Linked DNA regions of Homo sapiens: all the other regions are linked to region 4. Evidence: promoter capture Hi-C in 16 types of primary human blood cells and fetal thymus (Javierre and others, 2016). All regions are on one chromosome and are shown on one strand. Each heading gives the region's core, a stretch centred on a gene start or on the middle of the fragment in contact. The rest is flanking DNA. Distances are from core to core; before and after follow the strand shown.

Region 1 (2,928 bases), core at 9-2,508, 710 kb before region 4:
CTGTAAGCAAATATTCTCAAATATAAAGCACCTTTTAGCTCTTTAGTTGAACAACTCTTTAAGAACCTTTGGTAGAAAATTCCTAAAATGTCACACTTTTTAACCTATTAACTTAATCCAAGAAAGAAAGAAGGCTGGTTGAAGTTGATTTGGGATCCTGAAGTAACTATAAGAATAATGCTTTTTATACTGCAAGAATGGTCAGCTCTTGATTATGAGAAAATAGTATGACTTGATGAATAATGAGACAATCCTTTTGGAAAAGCCTCATTTGACCACTGGATTGACCATTACTTTTGGAGAGAGAGAGCTATGTTACTTGGCTCCAAAAATGATGTAGATGGATTCTGTAGTCCATATTTATGAGATAGAGAAATTATAGAGCATCAAACCAATAAGCAAATTTAGTCAGGAAAACAAGTCGCAAACTTGTCTTGCAATTAGCACATGTTCCATCCCATCACTCAAGCTGTGAGCTTCCATAGCCAGCCCAATAGCTGGTCAGAAAGGTGCTTTTTATCACCAGCACATAATCTCAAAATGGTCAGTTTTCTCTACATACCAGGGCTTGCACAGGTGTCATACATTTTATGAAAATTTACATCAAAATGATTTGAAATCAAAAGGTTTTGCCTCTCAAAGGGTTAATGCAAATTCTCATCCATGCCAGATTACTGTCTCTATTTTTATGCACATATTTATATATGAATATTTAACTTCTATTTTCCCTTATTTATTCAATATTTTAAAATCTTCACTAGATGCTAGCCCATCAATGTGCCTTCTTTGAAGAAGCCAATCCACATTTGGAAGCATAATTCCTTTGCTTTATCATCCTATCACTCACAAATGCGTATTTGTGTGCACCTGTGGCCTTCAGCGACCTCCTGTCTTCATAGGTCACATTGAGGAGCTTGTGAAGAGTTTGTACCTCTTCTTCATGCAAGTGCCAATATGCCCTTCTGTCTAGTTGGTATCTGGGATGAGAAACATGGAGTGGAATTCCTATTCTTAAGTGTTCTCTTGGGGAATATAAGGGCGGGTGGCAGAGAGAAAGGATTAGAGATTCAGCATCTCAATATATAAAAATCTTCAACCCCAGGTATTCGCAATCTTGGGGCACTGAAGAGAACAGACGAAAAATAGCCCTAGATACCAGGAAGGGTATCTAGGAATGGAAGATGCTATCCAACCAGCCTATGCCCTGTCTTTTATTATAAGAGCTCTTGCTGTCAAGAGCTGAGGAGTGAAATTGTTTTCCAGCCACAGTAAAGCAAGACTTCATTTCAGGTGCCTGGTTTATTTAAGATATGAGCAGCCGGGCGCGGTGGCTCATGCCTGTAATCCCAGCACTTTGGGAGGCCAAGGCAGGTGGATCACGAGGTCAGGAGATCGAGACTAACCTGGCTAACATGGTGAGACCCCATCTCTACTAAAAATACAAAAAATTAGCCGGGCGTGTTGGCAGGCACCTGTAGGGAGGCTGAGGCAGGAGAATGGCGTGAACCCAGGAGGCGGAGCTTGCAGTGAGCCGAGATCTCGCCACTGCACTCCAGCCTGGGCACACAGTGAGACTCCGTCTCAAAAAAAAAAAAAAAAAAAAAAAAAAAAAAGATATGAGCAAGGTGAGCTTAGGGCAATCCAGGACTTCATCCTCCTTTGAGCCTTCCCAAGCTGTATACAGCCTTTAAATAATGACCTCCTTTGCACATAACCTGACCTCAAAAATGACCTCTTTGCACATAACCTGACCTCATGAGAGATTCCCCCACTTTTCAGTCTGCCCTATGGACAAAGCCTATACCGGCTTTCATGCATTTTTGACAAATAGCCTCAATTTTCTTCCAGCTGTTTCATGTGTAAATGCTGTTTAGTGTGTGAATCAGTTTCCTGAAGGCAAATAATCCTTCTCAGTTGATTGTCATAATAGCTCATACAACTTTCTACATTCGAAGAGACATGATGTGGACATGAGAGAAATAAAGTTCGACCCTGTCCCCAAAGCCATCCCTTCTGACTTGCCCTGAGGATACCTGAAATTTCTACTAGCAGTCATTAAGAAATTTTTGATCTGGATATGTATTTCAAAATATGATATTGATTGAGAGAGATAACATAATTGTGAACTAATATATCCTATCAGTTATTCACCAAAGATTTATAGTGTGCATTTACTGCCTATGAAGCACACTGCTAGGGAGACTTAGAATTAGAGACTGCCCTTGCTTTCCAGGGTGTGGTAACCATCAGTCATTCTCATAAATATCTGTTTCTCCTTACTTGTGGGAGTGACATGGTGATGTGGGAGGGTTACATTTTCTGCCTCCTTGTTTGGGGGGCAGGGCATAGAATTAATTCTGGCTGAGGAGTTGTGGCAAGCTATGGGTTTAATACTTTGAAATACGGGGTTGCTTGACGCTGTAGCAGAACCTTGCCTATTTTGACTGATATAAGTAGCATACCCTTTTAAGACAGAAAAAAGAGATGGCCATACATGGTTGTAACATACAGAAGTTGTAAGGGAGATACAGCAAAATTCTTATGGAGAGAGATTTCCACAATGAGTAGAATATCTGTGAGGGCCCAATGGAAGTAGTAGCAACTGGGCTGAGCCCAGTTTAGAGAAAAAGAGTAACTCAGAAAAGAATACTCCAGAAACAGTTTAAGCCAAGGTCTAGAGGGAGATAAAGTTAATATTCACAGAGTGTCATAGTGAGTAATTCAGACTGAATCACAATTATTCTAATAATAACAAGCTGCCATTTACTGCCTGTGCTCACCATGTGCCTGGTTATGTGCTAAGTGGTTTACACAAATCATCAACATCATCTTCACAACAGCCCTGGGAGGTAGATACTATCAGCATCTCAATTCTACAGTTGAGGAAACTGAGTCTTTTGGAGGTTAATCAACAGTTTGAGGTCCCAC
Region 2 (3,121 bases), core at 356-2,855, 580 kb after region 4:
CCCAGCAGTCAGATTCATAAACCAAGTTCTTCTTGGCTTATGAAAAGACCTAGACAGCAACACAATAATAGAGGCTTTCAAACCCCACTGACAGTATGAAACGGATCATTGAGGCAGAAAACTAGCAAATTCTGGACCTAAACTTAACACTTAACCAGTTGGATATAATGGACATCCACAGAATCTCCACCCAACAACCAAAGAATATACATTCTTTTCATCTATACATAAAACATATTCTAAGATCAACCACATGTTTGCTCATAAAGCAAGTCTAAATAAATTAAAAAAATAGAAGTCATACAAAGCATAATCTCAGACCATAGTACAATAAAAATATAAATTGATATCAAGAAAATGTTTCAAAACTATACACATACATAGAAATTAAACAACTTACTTCTGAATAACTCATGGGTGAACACTGTAAGGCAGAAATCAAACAATTCTTTGAAATTAAGGAAAATATAGACACAACTTGCCAAAATCTCTGGGATGCAGCTAAAGCAGCGTGAAGAGGAAAGTTTCTATCACTAAATGCCTTCATCAATCAGTTAGAAAGATCTCAAAATAACAATCTAATTTTGCACGTAAAGGAACTAGAAAAAAAAAGAAGCCAACCCAAAGCTAGCAGAAGAAAATAAGTAACTAAATTTAGAGAAGAACTGAATGAAATTGAGATGCAAAAATCAGTATAAAGAGTCATTGAAACTAAGAGTTCTCCATTTGGAAAAATAAACAAGATTGATAGACCACTAGTTAGATTAACAAAGAAAAAAAAAGAAGATCCAAATAAGTAAAGTCAGAAATTACAAAGATGACATTACATCTGATCCCACAGAAATATGAAAGAGCCTCAGAGAATACAATGAACAACTCTATGCACACAGATTAGAAAATCTGGAGGAAATGTGTCATTTCCTGGAAATACAACCTTGCAACATTGCATCAGGAAGACATTGAAATCTCAAATAGACCAATATTGAGCTCAGAAGTTAAATTAATAATAAATTATCTACCAACCCAAAAAATCCTGGACCAGATGGATTCATAGGTGAGTTTTGTCAGACATACAAAGCAGAAGTCATACAAATCCTACTGAAACTTTTCCAAGAAATTAAGGAAGGAGGCTTCTCCCTAACTCATTCTGTGAAGCCAGTATCAGCCTGATACTAAAATCTGGCAGATACACATGAAAAAAGAAAACTTCAGGCAAATATCCCTAATGAACATAGATGCCAAAATGCTCAACAAAATACTAACAACTGATCTAGGAGCACATCAAAAGTTAATACAACATGATCAAGTAGGCTTTATTGATAGAATGCAAGGCTGGTTCAACATACACAAATCAATAAATGTGATTCACCACAAAAACATAATAAAAACAAAAAACATGATTATATCAAAAGATGCAGAAAAAGCTTTTAATAAAATTCCATAACGCTTCATATGAAAAACACTTAATGAACTAGGCATCAAAGGGAAATACCTCAACATAATAAAAGCCATATATGACAAATCTACAGACAACATCATACTGAATGGGCAAAAGCTGAAACCAATCCCCTTGAGAAATGGAAAAAGACAAGGATGACTACTGTCACCACTTTCAGTCAGCATAGTGCTGGAAGTCCTAATCAGAGCAAGTGTAACGCTAAAGTTTCTTGCCTTAGCCACGCCAAAGATTTGGTGTGGCGGTAGCCCACAGTGAGAGAGAGACACGGATCAGACCGAGAGAAAAAAGGCTGTAGACTTTATTAAGCAGTGACAGTACAAAGCTTCCACAGCGTGGAAGGGGTCCCGAGCGGGTAGCCAGTGTTAGATTTTTTGATCACCTTTTAAACTCTTTAAGGAGGGAACTACGTGCAGCGGGAAGATGTTACCAGAGCAAGAAACAAAGACAATTAACATGTCTCAGATCTTGAGGAAAACCGGAATTGTAACTTAAGTTTTATCTACTTTATGACCTTGCAGCGGCATGGCAAAGGAGACAGGATCTCACAGGATTTCACAAATTGTGTTTACAAGGAATTGGAATTGGGAGCATAGACAAGGTATGCTGGTCACAGAAAAACAGGCTTTTAACATTTCTTTTAGTTTCAGGGGAGGGGGAAGGGAGAGAGGGAGAGAGGACACAGGGAAGCTTACAACAAAATTTTCGCTGTTTATAGCTTTCTTGGGGAAGAAAACACAGGCACAAATTCTGATGTTAGGAATATTTTAAGCATGTATCTTCAATATTATTCATCCAGGACCAAAGTAAGTCCTGATGCAGGAAATGACTGAGTTTCACAGCTTTCTGAGCCCCTACTCGACCCAGGAAGCCCAGCTGACACCTCCCCTTACAAGCAGGCAAGAGAGAGAAATAAACGGCATTCAGATAGCTAAAGAGTCAAAATATCTCTCTTCACTGACAATATGATTCTATACCTAGAAAATCCTAAAGACTTCAGTAAAAGGCACCTAGAACTGATAAATGATTGTAGTAGAGTTTAAGGATACAAAATGAATGTATAAAAGTCAGTGGCATTTCTTTTTTTTTTTTTTGAGACAGAGTTTCGCTCTTGTTGCCCAGGCTGGAGAGCAATGGCGTGATCTCGGCTCACTGCAACTTCTGCCTTCTGAGTTCAAGGATTCTCCTACCTCAGCCTCCTGAGTAGCTGGGATTACAGGCATGCACCACCACGCCCGGCTAATTTTGTATTTTTAGTAGAGATGAGGTTTCTCCATGTTGGTCAGGCTGGTCTTGAACTCCTGACCTCAGGTGATCCACCCACCTGGGCCTCCCAAAGTGCAGGGATTACAGGTGTGAGCCACCACACCTGGCCAGGTCAGTGGCATTTCTATACACTAATAATGTCCAGGCTGAGAGTCAAATCAAGAACACAATCTGATTTACAACAGCAAAAAGAAAATGAAATACCTAGGAATCCAGTTAGTAAGTAAGGGAAAGATCTGTACAAGAAGAACCCTAAAACACTGCTGAAAGAAATCAGAGATGACACAAATAAATAGAAGAACATTTTATGCTCATGGATTGGAAGAATCAGTATCATTAAAATGGCCATACTGCCCAAAGCAATTTATAGATTCATTGCTATTCCTGTCAAACCACCAA
Region 3 (3,210 bases), core at 504-3,003, 670 kb before region 4:
CACCACAGCCTCAATCTGGGCTTCCTCTTACCTGTTCTTACCACTTCTTTTATTTTCCTTTGGTGTCACTTGTAAACATTTATTTGTGACAGTATTTGGCTAATGTCTGTCTCTCTCGATGGGTTGTAAGCTCTACAGGGGCAAGGATCAAATCTGCCCTTACACATCATTCTATCTGTGGAATCTAGCCCGAGTGCCTAGGGCCTCAGTAAGTCATTTTGAAAGATAGAATAGGAAGAATGGGAAGACAGAAGAGAAAATAAATAAATAAAGGTATCAAATTTTAAAGTTTAGTCTACTTATGTGCCTCTTCCTCCTCTTTGGGGGATAAATGACTATGTCATGAACAATTCGTCTCTACCTAAAAGAGGAAAACTTGCCCTCTGGATGGAGAATCATAAGAAAGAATGGGTATGGGGTGGGGTACAGGGGTACAGGTTGTGTGTGTGTCATTCCCTTTCCAGAAGCCCCTTCTCCATGGTCTCTCTGAAAATTTACACAGGACTCAACTCAGTGTTTGCCTTTTCTTTGAAGTATTTCCTGGTGACTGAAGACCTCATGAATGTGCACCTTCTACAGATTCCTAAAACACATCAAGAACCTGAGGTTTGAAGGCGCCACAGTCCCATGCCCTGTCCAGTGCAGCAAGCCCCCACCACAGCCCTGTCCACGACTTCCTCATATACATCACCTGCTGTTGTCAGATGACTCTTTTTCATGGACTGAGACGTTTTCTTTACATTGACCTAATATCTGTCTCCCTGATGGTCCTATGACTTGAGCCCATTTGTGTTCCCAAAGCTCTCCTGTTTATCTACTCCTTTCCCATTACAGTCCTTCTGATATTTGAATCCAAGTGTTCCACCTGCTCCCTTTCTTGCCTCTCCAGCCCCATACTAAAACTCTGTGATGTGATTTGTAGTCCTCTGTTTCATGTCTGTCTCATCTCTCCATGTAGGTTGTAAGCTCTCAGAGGGAAACATTTCCCTTCTGCCTCTTTACTATACTTTTCAAACCCAGTAATTGGCTGGAAATATAGTATACTGTAGGTACTGAGCGTACATAAGTAGGCTGGGCATGGTGGCTCACGCCTGTAATACCAGCATTTTTGGGAGGCTCAGGTGGGAGGATCACTTGAGTCCAGGAGTTCAAGACCAGCCTGGGCAACATAGTGAGACCTTGTCTTTAAAAAAATGAACAAAATTAGCTGGGTGTGGTGGTACATGCCTGTAGTCCCAGCTACTTGGGGGGCTCAGGCAGGAGGGTTGCTTGAGCCTAGAAGGTCAAGGCTGTAGTGAGCCAGGATCACACCACTGAACACCAGTTGGAGCAACAGAAAGAGAGACTCTGTTTCAAAACAAACAAACAAAAAACGGTGCATAAGTGGAATAGAAAAGGGCTTGCATGGGAAAAAAATGAGGCTATTTGGGTTGGAGACCCAGGAAGGATAGGATTTTCTTCTTCTGCCATGGTGATAAAGTTAAACTGATCAGGGTCAAGATTTTTCTACCACCTCATATAAGGTCCCTTTCCTTCAATAATGAAATACAAATAGGTGATTATGTTTCCAGCAATTGGTACCAGAATAAAAGACTAAAGAACACCATCATCAGAAAGCACAGGAACTGAGAAGACAAAGACAATTACACACATAGAGAAAATGATCAAGAAGAAAGAAGAAAGGGAGAGACGGTGTGGAGTTAGGAACGTCAGGCCAGGAGTGCTGAGATTTCTCTGGTATCCTCTGCCCCAGTCCCAGAGGATGCATTAGGTTTAATGCAGAAAATGACTGACAAATTACTAGGTCACTGAGTGTGAAATTTATATTTTTTGCTTCTTGCCTTCTCTCATCCTATAATTGTATCGACCTAAACAGTAAAAATATTGCTATTGTCTTCTTTATTATGGTGCTTCTATAAGCGGAACTGCTGTGTCTCAGGGAGCTTTTTTTTTTTTCCTGGATAAATCTTTTCCTTGTGATAAATAAATCCCTAATAGGGTCTTATTTAAATAACACTGTGCTGGGAGTGAGGCAGAAATCAAAAGATGAACCATTAAGCCTAGTAATAGGAAAGTGGTGTGCGTCAGCGGCATTACCGCATCCCGAGAAGCCACATCAATTAGGTACCTAATGTGTGACCCGTCACATAAACTAGTCCAGCCACACACCCCTCATGCTCTCACTATTGATTGTTGCCCAGATATTTGGAATTAAACTGAGCCTCCTAATTATCCAGCATGCAGAGCTGTGCTGGTCCTGCCATCAGGAGACTGAACTGCGGCCTCTTCCCAAGGAATTTCCCTCACTGTGATGAACGTGCTGTCCCTGTGACCTTGAGCTATGAGTGTGTTTGTTTTATAATCAACTGTATCTGAGCCATGGGGGTGTTCTCAGGAATCAGAGATATCAAAAATGGTGACTGTTTAGTGTATGTTAGTAATGCATTGTGATTCTGAGGTTTTATCCAGAATGGTTTTTAACGACATTTATTCACTTTGGTGAAAACACTCTAAATCTGTTTCTCGCACGTTTCTCTGGCTTTCTGGCTACCTTCAGTCATAGGAAATGCTCCCTGCCCTGAACTCTTTTAGCAAGCTGTCAGTCTCACTCACTGGACCATGCTCAAGGGTCTGTGTTTTGTCTTTGTTGACCCAAACAGTGAGTGCAGTAATTATTTTGCTTTTGTCTTAAATCCTCTTTGGTGCCAAGCCTGGGGTTGGAGAAATAGTAGAAGCTCAATAAAAAGTTGATAATATTGATTATTTTGACTACTTCTGATTTCTTATGCTTCTTGAAGTAGTCAATGTTTCCTGCCATTGATGCATTTAGACATTGCCTTTTGCCAAATTACCTAAGCATGTAAAAACCTTGGAGATGGCTTTCAGGTTCCCTGGCATTTTCATTTAGCTAAGTTATGCCTAGTTAGTTCTCTTAATCTTCATCTACGTTCCACTTCTTGCCTTTTAATTTTTTATAATCTGGAGATGACAACACCTTGGATGATTCCAGGGAAACATTTGGGGAAATGCCCAGGAGAGGAGAGAGCTGTAACCAAGATGGGTTATGTTTGTGCAATCTGCCCATTCCTGCTGCATTCACTGCGCAACCTGTGAGAATTGAATTGCCCAGTGCAACATGGGGACCACTGTTGCTGTCTGTCTTGCTTGACCTTTGCTGTGTTCTGGAATGGATGTGCTGGTCTACTGCCT
Region 4 (2,952 bases), core at 82-2,581:
CACGGCTCCTCTAGAAACGCACACAATGCGTGCTTTCAAAAAGGCATTCGTCTGCTTTTAAGGGAATTCCTATCTTTTCAGAGTCCCAAAACCAGAGAGCACAAGAAAGAGACTCAAATCCATTGATTAAGATTTTTAAGAAAAAGACTAACACACAGGCACAACACAAGCACACACCAACCTTCGCCGGCTGGACCACTTCTTGCCTGTTCTTCTTTCTATTAACGACACGTTAGATTCTGATACATTCCCCCCCCAAAAAAATCCAACTAGGTTACAATGTAGCTCTCTAGCTCCACTTAACCTGCAAGTTACAAAGAGAGAAAAAAAAAATCCTGCCTTCCCACCCCTTTCCTTACCCCCTCCCCCTCCCGAGTCCACTCCACCAACGCCAAACCCGCCAGCCCCGCCAGCCGGCTGCAGGACCGAGGGAGGGTGCAAAAGGCGGGGGGCGGAGGGGGGGTAGATCAGATTAGGCGAAACTCAATAAGCTCCCAGCCCTCCAGCCCAAAGCTTCCACCATCGCCGCCACCAACGAGCCACTCCAATTGAGCCAGCATCGCCGCCCACCCGCCGGCCCGCCGGAATCGCGCCCATCTCCTGCAACCTCGCCCGGACCGGCATCCCGCCCCCTCGGCCCGGTCTCCCCCTTCCCGCCGGGTGCAAAGTCAAAGACCCAGCAAGGCGACGTGAACTTTTGCATGCAGGGCACACACGTCGCCCCCGGTTCCGGGAGTGCGGGGGCCCGCGGCGCGGAGGGAGGCTGGGCGCCCGGGCTCCCGGGCCAAGGTCGCCGCGCGTGCTCACCCATGTCCCGGCGGCTCCGGCTCCGCTGGCCCCGGCGCTCGCTCAGATCCCGGCTCCCGTCGCTCGCCCGAGCCCCCAAAGGTGCTGCTGCGGCAACTCCATGGCGATGAGCATCTGTCAAACGGCGAGCCGCGAGCTGGCCGCCCTAGCTCGGGGGGCGCCGGGGCCCCCGGGCGCGCGGAGGCGGCGGCGAGCGGCGGGCGCCCCGGCCGGCCCCGCGCTTCCCGCCCGACTCTGCCGCCTCCGCCGCGCCACCGATTTATGGAGAGAGATATCAAGGGGGAAAATGGCGTCTCCGGAGCCCGAGGAGTCCTGGAGTAATCACATTCACACACACACGCCCGCACGCACACACACTCGCACACACTGGCACACAGGCGCGCGGCGAGCCCTGCTAATTTTAGCAGGAGCCAAAAAAAATTTTATATATATATATATATATATATATATATATATATCCCCGTCTCTCCGATCAATGCTTTTTCTTTTTTTGCTTTTTTTTTTTTTTTTTTTTTTTTTTTTGCTTTTCTTCAAAGGATGGGTTGGAGCGTTAAAAAATGTTGGTGGGTTTGGGCTCGCAGGAGGCGGCGCGCGGAGGGCGAGGGCGCTTTTGCTGAGCTGTGCAGTTCGGTCCGCTGAGCCCGGCGGCCCTGCCCGCCCGCTCGTCCGCCCGCGGTCGCTAGTGTTGCCGCCGCCGCCGCCGCCGCCGCCGCTGCTGCTCCATGGCCGCGCCCGCCCCGCGCCCCCGCCGCGTCCCGTCGCCGCCCGCCCGCGTCCCCGGTGAGCGCTGGAGTGGGGTCGGGCCCGTGTGCCTGCCTCCCGCGCCCTCTCCGAATCCCGGACTCCTAGTGAAAGGAAGGGGGAGGGCGCGGGCGCGGAAGGGAGGTGGATCGGAGCGGCAGCGCGGCCCAGCCGAACGGGTACCGACCGTCACCCCGCGATCTTCCTCGCAGGGGGCGCCGGCGCCCAAGCTGCTCGCCCGGAGGGCCCAGAGCCGCTTCCCAGACCAGAGCCGGGGGAGGCGCAGCCAGTAGCGAGCCCTGAGCGACCTCTCTCCCCACTCGCCCCCCTGCCCCAGTGAATTTCTGTCAGTTGAAGGGAGCGGGGCTCTTGCCCGGGGAAAAGGAAAACAGTTCGTGGCCTGGGATCTGGGACCCCTTGCCGCCCCCAGCGCCCCTCCCGCTCCCCGGCGCCCTTGCGGCCCAGTGGCTCCTGCGCGCCGGAGTCCGCCGCGAAGACTGAGCGGCCGCGGGGATCGCCGCGGGCTCCGCGCGTATTCCTGGGCTCAACACTGCCACTATCTGACACAACAGGAGCAGTGTCGGGGGGGTACTGCGCGCCCAGACGTGAGCTGTGATAGGCTCTCGAAACTGGGCGCATTTTTTTTTTAACCTGGTAATTATATTTCACTTTCAGGGTTTTTTTAAATTATTATTATTATTTTATTGTTGTTGTTAAGCGACTTGTATGCATTCAGATCTCATGTGCATTTTCTCGTTATTCAAGAGAATTGGACACTTGATGAAGGGAAGGACACGGAGAGATGACAAACGCAGACTGGCATGCAGTTGTTTTCAGGGTGGGAAGAACAAAGTGGAATGTCTTCAGTTCTTACAAAATATGGTGGCATTTGTAATCTCTGAGTTTTTGTATTTGGCCTACAAAGGGGGTCTTTTCAGGGAAACACGAATGGAACCCTTCAGAGACATGTCTACATTGTAAAACAATATAGGATAGATACGGATTCGGGAAGGTCTGCAAATGGTTCCGCTCAAAGAACTTGGGGTAAAGTTGACCGAGGACTCGGATTCTGAGAGGACTCCTATCACGTTCTTCATGAGAGTTTTAGGCTATTTGGACTGAGGAATGATTTGGAGGTACGTCGGGGGCATTCCCTCACTGAGGCCATCAGTGGCTGCCTCCCTGCATTGGCTGCTGGTTTGAGTTCCTTCACAGAACTTCTTCGTCAAGTTTTTCATAGGAACGCTGCAGTGAAGTGGAGTGAAAGAGACTGGGGATTGAAGGGTGAACCCCTTCCAGCCCCAATCCCATCCCGATTCCTGTCTGGATGCAGATTCAGTCTGACTCAGAACGGATAGTTCACCCTTTTACTGATCCAAGTGCTCTGTCCTCTTTTTTTCAGAG
Region 5 (2,888 bases), core at 199-2,698, 560 kb after region 4:
ATTTCCACTGTGATTTAAATAAAGGCCATGTAAAGTTCCTATCTATATTTGTGAACAGTGTTTTTCTCTCCTTTCAAAGATGCCAAAAGAGAGAGTCTATACTACATAGTTTACTTAGAAAATCTTCCACTATTCCTTCTGCCATCATTATGATATAACCATCTCTATGGATATATCTGATTGCATTTCATTTTCTTGTGATATGGCAGCATATAGTAGCATATTTTTTTTCAATAGTGTTGGATCGATAGACTTAGCAAGCCAAAATTACTTCTGCATTGTGATCAAGACTATGGAGGGAATATCCAAGCAATGTTGTGTGTGTGTAAATGTATGTATGTATCTACATATGTATTCTCTGACTCCAGTATTGCTACAGTCTCATTCTCTGGCATTGACCCAAAGGAGGTTGTGGCCAAAGTCAACCAAAGGTTCCCCACAAATTTACCCACATATCCTTCGCTATATTTTCTAACCCTTGTACCCCTACCTGAATCAACTAATTTCCTTCTAGGCATGTGTCTTCCTCTACCGGTGCAATTTACAAGGATTTGAAGACTCACTCTTTTCCAAAAATATTTAGGGATTATAGTCCTAGAGACTAACATTCGTCTTGACTTTTATTTCTCCTTCATTCTTCTTTAGCCACAAAACATGTTTCTAAATATCGCTCAAATTTATCCACTTTTATCAATTTCCTTGCTATCCTCATGGAATAAATGATCATTCTCTCTCAAGTCTTAGCACTTCTTACTGGATCCTAATCGTCACTCTCTAGTCTGTTACTCACATGGTAATTAAGAATGATATTTTAAAGGAAATATAAGAAATTATGATTATGTCATTGCCTTGTTTAAAGTTCTTCGATGCCTTTTATCACTGTAAGAATAAATATTTAGAACACATGCAGAATATGTCTGCTGTCCACTTTAGAGAGTCAGTTCTAGCTCTTTATTCCTTGCTTTATTGTTTCTGCCACATTGACATTCTTTCAATTCTTGGAGTATGTCTATGTTTTTCTGTATCTTAGAGTCTGTGCAATGCTATTTCCTTTGAGTGTCACACTCCTTATTTTGGTATACATCTTTCACAGCTCATTTCCAACTCTAATTCTTCAAGCAAATATTCCCATGCTTGGTTCTTGACTCTATATTATATACTTTTATTGCACCTATATTACTTTTTATTACAGAGCAACCGTAAAATAATTAGGTAATGATTTCTGGTTGTAACATTTGTTACTTCCCAGAATGTAAATACCTTTAGGCAGATTATATTTGTCCTTTTAATGATGTATTCCCAAGGAATGGTGCATTGGATTATATTTTGAGAACATTCAATATATATATTTCAAATAAATAAATGGATGGTGGGGCTAGGATAAAATTCAAAAAATCCTTAGAAAGACTAAATTTACAGGATTAGGGGTTACACGTTCTGTAACGAAGACAAAGGTATCTCTTCCTTTGTCTGGGACCTCTCTCTCTCACTCCCTTTCTATTCTTGGGTGCTGTAGTACATCTGAAACAGTTGATGATTAAATAACCAAGAGTTTACAGAAATAAAGAAAAAAATTATGATTTCAGAATTATAAATAAGTCCTTGCTTTAGTTCAGCTATTTAGAAGTAGGTGTTCCCCAGATCTCATACATTAAAAATCGAGCTAACCTCTATGGCAAAACTGCCCTTCATTAGTCTATTTAAACATTAGAGACAGGAACATTTCATTAGTACTTGGAAGATGGCTAAAGTTCAGGCTATTTTTTTTTTCTTTTTTTTTTTTTTTAAAGTGACAGCAAGTTAATTAAGAAAGTAAAGAAATAAAAGAATGGCTACTCCATAAACAGAGCAGCCTACTTACCTACTATTATAAGATGATGTTTTATGGAATAGCTTCATTTAATATATATTCCACTGAGGCACAGAGAGTAGGGGAAACTAGTTTTACAGTCCAAATCTAGCAAGCATATTTGTATTCATTGCAGTGGGCATTGAAGCCTATTTAGGATGGGGTTATTACACTGGGAGAGATAAGGCAAAAGGAGAGCAAAAACATCCTTCCACTGCCTCAGGCAGTGGACATAGGAGAAGAATGATAAACACATGCATCTCTCGTTAGAAAGTTGGATGCTGGAGACATTTTTTTCCTCAATGCTCTTTATCAGTATGTATTTCCTTGAAAACCATAAAATATTAGGTTAATTTTGCTGCTAAAAACGAGCTATTTGTTTAATAATTTATTTGTCCTTTCTTTTCAGAGGGCACTTGGCTTTTATTCACAGATGATGAATACGTTGTCTTTTTTCATTTTTTGCATACCCATTATGTTCTCAAAATGAAGGGTCTAAACAATTCTCTGGGAGAAAATTATCCACAATACTTTTATGAGTTAATTTATGATATTGAAATAAAACAAGATTTCAAAACCAAGTCCAACATATATAAAAGTAAGAGAAATAGTACCTTACATTTTGATTACTGGGAGAGCTAAAAGTTTTTGTAGCTGGGCATGGTGATGTGCACCTGTAGTTCTAGCTAGTTGGGAGGCTGAGACAGGAGGATTGCTGGAACCCAAATGTTCAAGGACTCTCTGGACAACATAATGAGACCCATTTCAAAAAAAACTTTTTAAGTTTTTCTGTGTACATACAGCATGTTGCCATGATAATTATTAGGGTGTTTATAATTGAAACAAAGCATTATTAACCAAGAAAGCAACCCCCCCAACCCAGGCCCAGTGGCAGGTCCCATGAATCATGCCCTGTGAATGACTACTTAAGCCACCATTGCTGATCACTCAAGCAGGATGGCATCATGTTCTTACAGGCAACAAAACAAGAAAGGTTGATGAGCAGCACTGGGCACAGGTTAGGAACAGAAGGGGAAAG
Region 6 (2,926 bases), core at 32-2,531, 550 kb before region 4:
TGTATAACCAGAGCTGATTTTGGGGAGGGGATAGTTTATCTTGAACAAGTAACATTTCAACAATACATTTTTGTTAGTTATGTGAGCACAGATCAGGAGAATGCTGACCTTAAGAGGTCAACTTGTGAAATCTCCTAAACAACACAGGAATCCCTTCTTCAGTGTTGCAGGAAGATGTTCACTCAGGTTCTGTGTGAGCCTCTCCAGCAACAGGAACTCACTACCACTCCGATATGTGGATTCCATTGTTGAACCATTCACAATGTTAGAAAGTTGTTACCTAGAGTGAAACTAAAGGAATCTAACACTTCTCTCAGGTTCAAAGACAACTGCAAGAGGGGGAAATTGTTTCACCCAAAAGGAATGAGATTCAAGTGGTAAAAATCTCCTACAGACAATTAAGTTAGAGAAAAATTGGGGTGCAAGAAGTCAACCTATACCTTCTCGTCTCATGGCCCACCTGAACCAACACAGCACCGGTAGCCAGTTACACACAGGTTGGAACTTGATTCTAAGTTTTTAGTCACATTACCCTTTTGTGGTTTCACGAATGTGCCTCAAAATGGGCCTATAAGCTGCTTAATAGCATCTCCCATGACATCCAGCCTTGAGCTGGCTACACAGGAGGAGCTCTTAAAGCCCTTGTGACTTAACCAATTAAGCTGAACTTATGACAGATTTATTAAAAGTAACAATCCAAAATGTATTTATATACAGTCTCTTGAGTTGGTTCACAAACAGATTGTCTATGGTGACAGCCTCCTGTACCCTGGTTTGACAAATGAATCTTCAAAGTTGGAACCAAGTTGGTTAATTCTTCCATATGTCTAAATGATCACTAGAATGCCAGAGAATTAGAACAATGGGTATAGACAAGTTACTATTTTCACCTAGTTGATTCTTCCTGATATGGCTTGTCTCTGTGTCCCCACTGAAATCCCATGTTGAATTGTAATTCCCAATGTTGGGGGCGGGACCTGGTGGGAGGAGACTGGATCATGGGGATGGACTTCCTCTTCATTGTTCTCATGATAGTGAGTTCTCATAAGATCTGACTGGCTGAAAGTGTGTGGCACTTCTCCCTTCACTCTCTCTCTCCTGATCTGCCACATAAGATGTGCTTGCTTCCCCTTTACCTTCCACCATAATTGTAAGTTTCCTGATGCCTCACAGCCATGCTTCCTGTACAGCCTGTGGAACTCTGAGTCAATTAAACCTCTCTTCTCATAAATGGCCCAGTCTCGGGTAGTTCTTGCTAGCAGTGTGAGAATAAACAATACACTTCCCTTTCTGCTCCCATAGCTTCAACTCTGGTTCATTCACTCATCATTTTGTTTTTTTTTTTTACTATTGCAATGGACTCTTAGTTGAAATCCTTTAGCTTGGTTCTCAAGGCATCATATGAAAGTCTTCCAGCTTCATCAGTTGCTTCTTCCCAGAGCAGCCTGTGTTTCTTCTTTGTTAACACTTTTCACACACATACTTATTTATTTGAAGAATTGCTTTCATCACCACACTATAAACACTCCATAAGGACAGCAGGGGAACTCATAACACTTACAGATGCTCAGTAACTACTCACTGAATGAACTACCAAATTCCTCATACGCACCCCATAGCATAGCATAACTGAAGTGTGTGTCATTCTCCAAACATGCCCCTCACTTGCCAGCACTATTATTGATCATGCCATTTGCATATGGCCATATTAAAGGACTATGTAATGGATGGCATGAAGACAATGAATTGGGCATAATTTGAGTGTTTAATGATGAGAAAGGAATGGTCAGAGTATCCTGACTGGAGACAACGAAGGGTTTTTAGTGTCACAAGCTGTGAGAAAGCACTAGCTTAATCATCAAGATACCATAATGGGAGGGGTGTAGTGGCTCACACCTGTAATCACAGTACTTCCCATTTGGGAGGCCAAGGCAGGAAGATCGCTTGAGGCCAGGGGTTCAAGACCTGCCTGGACTACACAGCAAGAGCTTGTCTCTACAAAAAAATAAAAAATTAGCCAGGCATGGTGATGCATGCTAGTAGTCTCAGGTACTCAGGAGGCTGAGGTAAGAGGATAGCTTGAGCCCAGGAGGTCAAGGCTGCAGTAAGCTATGATTTCATCACCACTCTCTAGCCTGGGTGATACAACAAGACTCCACCTCAAAAAAATAAATAAAAATAAAAAATAAAAAAAGTATCAAGATGTTAATATTTCAGCTTTTGCCTCTGGGTTGTCCACTGTGACTTTGGACAAGTTACTTAACTTCTCTGTGCGTCAATTTCTTACCCTGTAAAGCATGGATAGTAATGCCCTTCTATTCCTTGACATTTCCAGGAGGCTGGTAGGCTAATGTAAAACACCCTAGCCTTTGGCGCTCTTGCCAATACACTTTTGTTGTTGTTGTTCTTGTTAAAGATTTAACATAATTGAAACCTGGGCTCAAAAAATATTTTTCCTGCCTGAGGTATTAACTCAAAATAGCATAATTATTCATTCCAATAATTTGTACAAATAATACTAAGAAACTACGTTCCAGAAGACAACAACCAGCTCTTTGGAACTCTCCTGGAGTCTTCCTTTCCTGACACTCTGAGAACTGGATTCAGTTCAACATTTCTTAAAAGCATTTTTATGCCAACCCTTACAAGGAATACTTAAGGGGAAAAAGAAGATCTGCCTTCAAGGACCTTGTGGTAGGCAGAATAATGGCCCCCAAAGACATTCACATTTGAATCTCCAGAACCTATTAATATGTTGCATTACATGGATAAAGAAACCTGCAGATGTGATTAAATTAAGGGCCTTGAGTTGGGGGGATTTTTTTGGATTAACTTGTCTGGGTGGCACAATCTGATCCCACAGCTCCTTCACAGAAATCTTTCCTGGCTGTGACCAGAGAGGGAGGTATGACAATGGAAGAATAGA
Region 7 (3,026 bases), core at 223-2,722, 590 kb before region 4:
AATCTTAGTATTCAGTTGATCTAAATTTTCTTCACCCTTCAATACTGTTCTATAGATGCTCACACAGAGTCCAGAGAAGAAAAAATGCCTTGCAGATGTCACAGTTAAGCTTTAATTTCCAAACGAGAAGAGAATTTTGTGTCACCCAAAGTACAATCTGTGCTAACACATTGGATTCAGCTTGTTTTTCAAGCTGTTGGCCTACATCTTGCCTCCTAGCTCCTGGTTAATGCTTTTTTAAAAAGACTATTGGACTTCATTTGCACACCCAATTACTCTGCTCACCTGTTTGTGCTTCCTCCTTCTCCTCTTGGCCACTCCTTTCCACAAATACACACACATTATCAGAAAAAAGTCAAGTCTAGAGTGTAGAAGTATTTGATGGTTGTATTGCACACTACCTGTTCCCTCTTCATCTGTAGGACAACGCTTTTCTCCTGGGAAATTCTTACCTACCCATTTAAAGGCTCTATGGTTTGAACGTTATCTTGATTTTACCTCCAGAGAAGATAACTCAAGCCTAACCAATCATAGCATCCCATTTTCCTGTCTACAGTGAATGGTTCAGGGATGAGAATGTGACCCAATCAGAGCCAACAAGGCAGTTACAAGACTTCTGGGACTATTTTGAGAAAATTATTCTCTCTTTACTGCTGAGCTTACAGCTATGAGGATGTAATCTTGGAACTGTTGGATGGTCATTTTACTTCTTCAATGGATAAAACCACTGAAAATAAAACCAGTACATAGCAAAGCGAGAGTCGAGTAATAGAGCAAAAACCCCGATCTGATGATATCGGGACACCTCGATCCATCTGAGCTTGAAACTCTTAGACATTTCAGATAGATGAGTGAAAAAAAATCATGCTTTAGTTTAAGTCAGTCAAGTCCATTATTCCGATATTTGCAATTGCACGATTCCTGATGGATATAGCAGTGTAGGGTTTACTTAATGACTAGGCTCCCTATAAGGGATTCAGTTGCTGGCTTAGGTAGCTTTTATTTTAAAAAAATTTTTGTGTGTGCACAGTAGGTGCATATATTTGTGGGGTACATGAGATATTTTGATACAGGCATGCAATGTGAAATAAGCACAACAAGGAGAATGGGGTATCCATCCCCTCAAGCATTTATCCTTTGATTTACAAACAACCCAATTATATTCTTTAAGTTACTTTAAAATATACAACTAAGTTATTATTGACTAAAGTCACCCTATTGTGCTTCCAAATAGTAGGTCTTATTCATTCATTCTATTTTTTGTACCCATTAACCATCCTCATCTACCCCTCAACCTCCCATTACCCTTCCCAGCCTCTGGTAATCATCATTTTACTTTCTATGTCCACGAAACTAGAAGGGTACTACTACTAAAAATCAATTGATTTGAATTTTAGATCCCACAAATAAGTGAGAACATGTGATGTTTCTCTTTCTGTGTCTGGCTTATTTCACTTAACATAGTAAAATGTTGTTGCAACATTTGCAACAACATGGATGGAATATATTGATCTCCAGTTCCATCCATGTTGATGTACCATATTTTCTTTATCCATTCATCTGTTGATGGACACTTAGGTTGCTTTCAAATCTTGGCTATTGTAAACAGTGCTGCAACAAACAGGAGTACAGACATCTCTTCAATATGATGATTTCCTTTCTTTTGGATATATACCCAGCAGTGGGATTGCTGGATGATATGGTAGCTGAATTTTCAGTTTTTTGAGGAACCTCCAAACTATTCTTCATAGTGGTTGTACTAATTTACATTCCCACCAAGAGTGTAAAAGGATTCCCTTTTCTCCACATCCTTATCAGCATATGGCTATTCAGTTTTCCCAGCACCACTTATTGAAAAGACTCTCTTTTCCCTAGTGTATGTTTTTGGTATCCTTGTCAAAGATGAGTTTACTATACATGTATGGATTTGTTTCTGGGTTCTCTATTCTGTTCCATTAGTTTATGTGCCTATTTTTATGCCAGTACCATGCTGTTCTGGATACTATAGCTCTGTAGTATAATTTGAAGTCAGGCAATGTGGTTCCTCCAGTTTTGTTCTTTTTGCTTAAGACAGCTTTGGCTATTCTGGGTCTTTTGCGGTTCGATATAAATTTTAGGATTTTTTTTCTATTTCTGTGAAGAATGTCATTGATATTTTGATAGGGATTGCATTGAATCTGTAGATTGCTTTGGGTAGTAAGGACATTTTAACAATATTGATTCTTCCAATCCATGAACATAGAATATTTCTCCATTTTTTGGTGTTCTTTTCAATTTCTTTCATCAGTGTTTTATAGTTTTCATTATAGAATTCTTTCACTTCTTTTTAATTTCTAGGTATTCAATTTGTGGCTATTGTAAAAGGGATTACTTTTTGATTTGTGTTTCAGATTGTTCACTGTAGGTAGCATTTTATCATTGCATGTTTTGCTGATACTTTTAAAGTTGCTTTCCAGCTGCTATCTTCTTTTGCATAATGTCATGAATTACAGTTAATCATCAGTCTGTATTTCCATTCAAGTCATAAATTTCCTGATTTTTCTACAATCTGTGCTAACATGATCTTTTAGCTCCTAGAATCACCTCCCAAGGGAAAAGGAAAAAATAACCATTGCTAGAAAGAACTAAAACTGGACTGGCCCAGCCACTAAGATGTCTACACAACAGAGGGCATTTCCTTTGGGGAAGAGCTGACAAGCATTACTTGCTCAGATAAGAATTACTTTTTCCTTTGTTCTTCTAACTTGGTTAGGCTCTGCAAATGTCACTTGATTTTCAAGTGGATGCATCACCAATGTTCTTTATCTGAAAGTGGGATCCACCATCTAAGCTTCAGGGGAAGCAAGTGTGTGGGAAGCAGAGAAGGGAAGTTGCTGCAGAATTGTTTTACCTTACACACATAAAGGAAGGCATTTTCCTGCTATATTTACTGATATCCTGCTGAAAGCTAAATTTGTATCTGCTTAAAATCAACAAGGCTTTCTTTCAGGCTTTCTCACTTTTTTAGAGTATTTTTGCATTTGCTG

What was found. Contacts are between HindIII fragments. The CHiCAGO score rates a contact against its expected background, and 5 or more counts as called.
Region 1: a fragment that was not itself captured here is called in contact with the fragment with the promoter of SETBP1-DT in region 4 in 5 of 17 cell types (megakaryocytes, M0 macrophages, M1 macrophages and 2 more); the score reaches 9.6 in megakaryocytes.
Region 2: a fragment that was not itself captured here is called in contact with the fragment with the promoter of SETBP1-DT in region 4 in 1 of 17 cell types (M2 macrophages); the score reaches 5.3 in M2 macrophages.
Region 3: a fragment that was not itself captured here is called in contact with the fragment with the promoter of SETBP1-DT in region 4 in 1 of 17 cell types (total B cells); the score reaches 5.1 in total B cells.
Region 5: a fragment that was not itself captured here is called in contact with the fragment with the promoter of SETBP1-DT in region 4 in 1 of 17 cell types (M2 macrophages); the score reaches 6.6 in M2 macrophages.
Region 6: a contact is called between a fragment that was not itself captured here and the fragment with the promoter of SETBP1-DT in region 4, in 3 of 17 cell types (naive B cells, total B cells and monocytes). The highest score is 6.4, in naive B cells.
Region 7: a fragment that was not itself captured here is called in contact with the fragment with the promoter of SETBP1-DT in region 4 in 1 of 17 cell types (total B cells); the score reaches 5.2 in total B cells.

The regions. Positions count from the first base shown.
Region 1 is chr18:45,386,750-45,389,677 of GRCh38, reverse strand. The region is part of intron 8 of SLC14A2-AS1 (SLC14A2 antisense RNA 1); the gene reads left to right. It also overlaps a transcript of SLC14A2 not described here. Among named protein-coding and RNA genes, the nearest start is that of SLC14A2-AS1, 120 kb to the left of the region's middle. The HindIII fragment of the contact is 3,962 bases long and covers 1-2,928 here.
Region 2 is chr18:44,093,998-44,097,118 of GRCh38, reverse strand. No RefSeq gene overlaps it. Among named protein-coding and RNA genes, the nearest start is that of LINC01478, 440 kb to the left of the region's middle. The HindIII fragment of the contact is 357 bases long and covers 1,427-1,783 here.
Region 3 is chr18:45,349,515-45,352,724 of GRCh38, reverse strand. It overlaps a transcript of SLC14A2 not described here. Among named protein-coding and RNA genes, the nearest start is that of SLC14A2-AS1, 150 kb to the left of the region's middle. The HindIII fragment of the contact is 3,527 bases long and covers 1-3,210 here.
Region 4 is chr18:44,678,251-44,681,202 of GRCh38, reverse strand. It overlaps SETBP1-DT (SETBP1 divergent transcript), which reads left to right and starts at 1,331. Exons shown (of 2, transcript NR_187430.2): 1 at 1,331-1,587; 2 at 2,314-2,952. It overlaps SETBP1 (SET binding protein 1), which reads right to left and starts at 315. Exons shown (of 6, transcript NM_015559.3): 1 at 182-315. RefSeq lists silencers at 441-490, 631-880, 1,551-2,190. The HindIII fragment of the contact is 7,071 bases long and covers 516-2,952 here.
Region 5 is chr18:44,117,926-44,120,813 of GRCh38, reverse strand. No RefSeq gene overlaps it. Among named protein-coding and RNA genes, the nearest start is that of LINC01478, 410 kb to the left of the region's middle. The HindIII fragment of the contact is 5,756 bases long and covers 1-2,888 here.
Region 6 is chr18:45,230,457-45,233,382 of GRCh38, reverse strand. It overlaps a transcript of SLC14A2 not described here. Among named protein-coding and RNA genes, the nearest start is that of MIR4319, 260 kb to the right of the region's middle. The HindIII fragment of the contact is 3,728 bases long and covers 1-2,926 here.
Region 7 is chr18:45,270,891-45,273,916 of GRCh38, reverse strand. It overlaps a transcript of SLC14A2 not described here. Among named protein-coding and RNA genes, the nearest start is that of SLC14A2-AS1, 230 kb to the left of the region's middle. The HindIII fragment of the contact is 2,721 bases long and covers 112-2,832 here.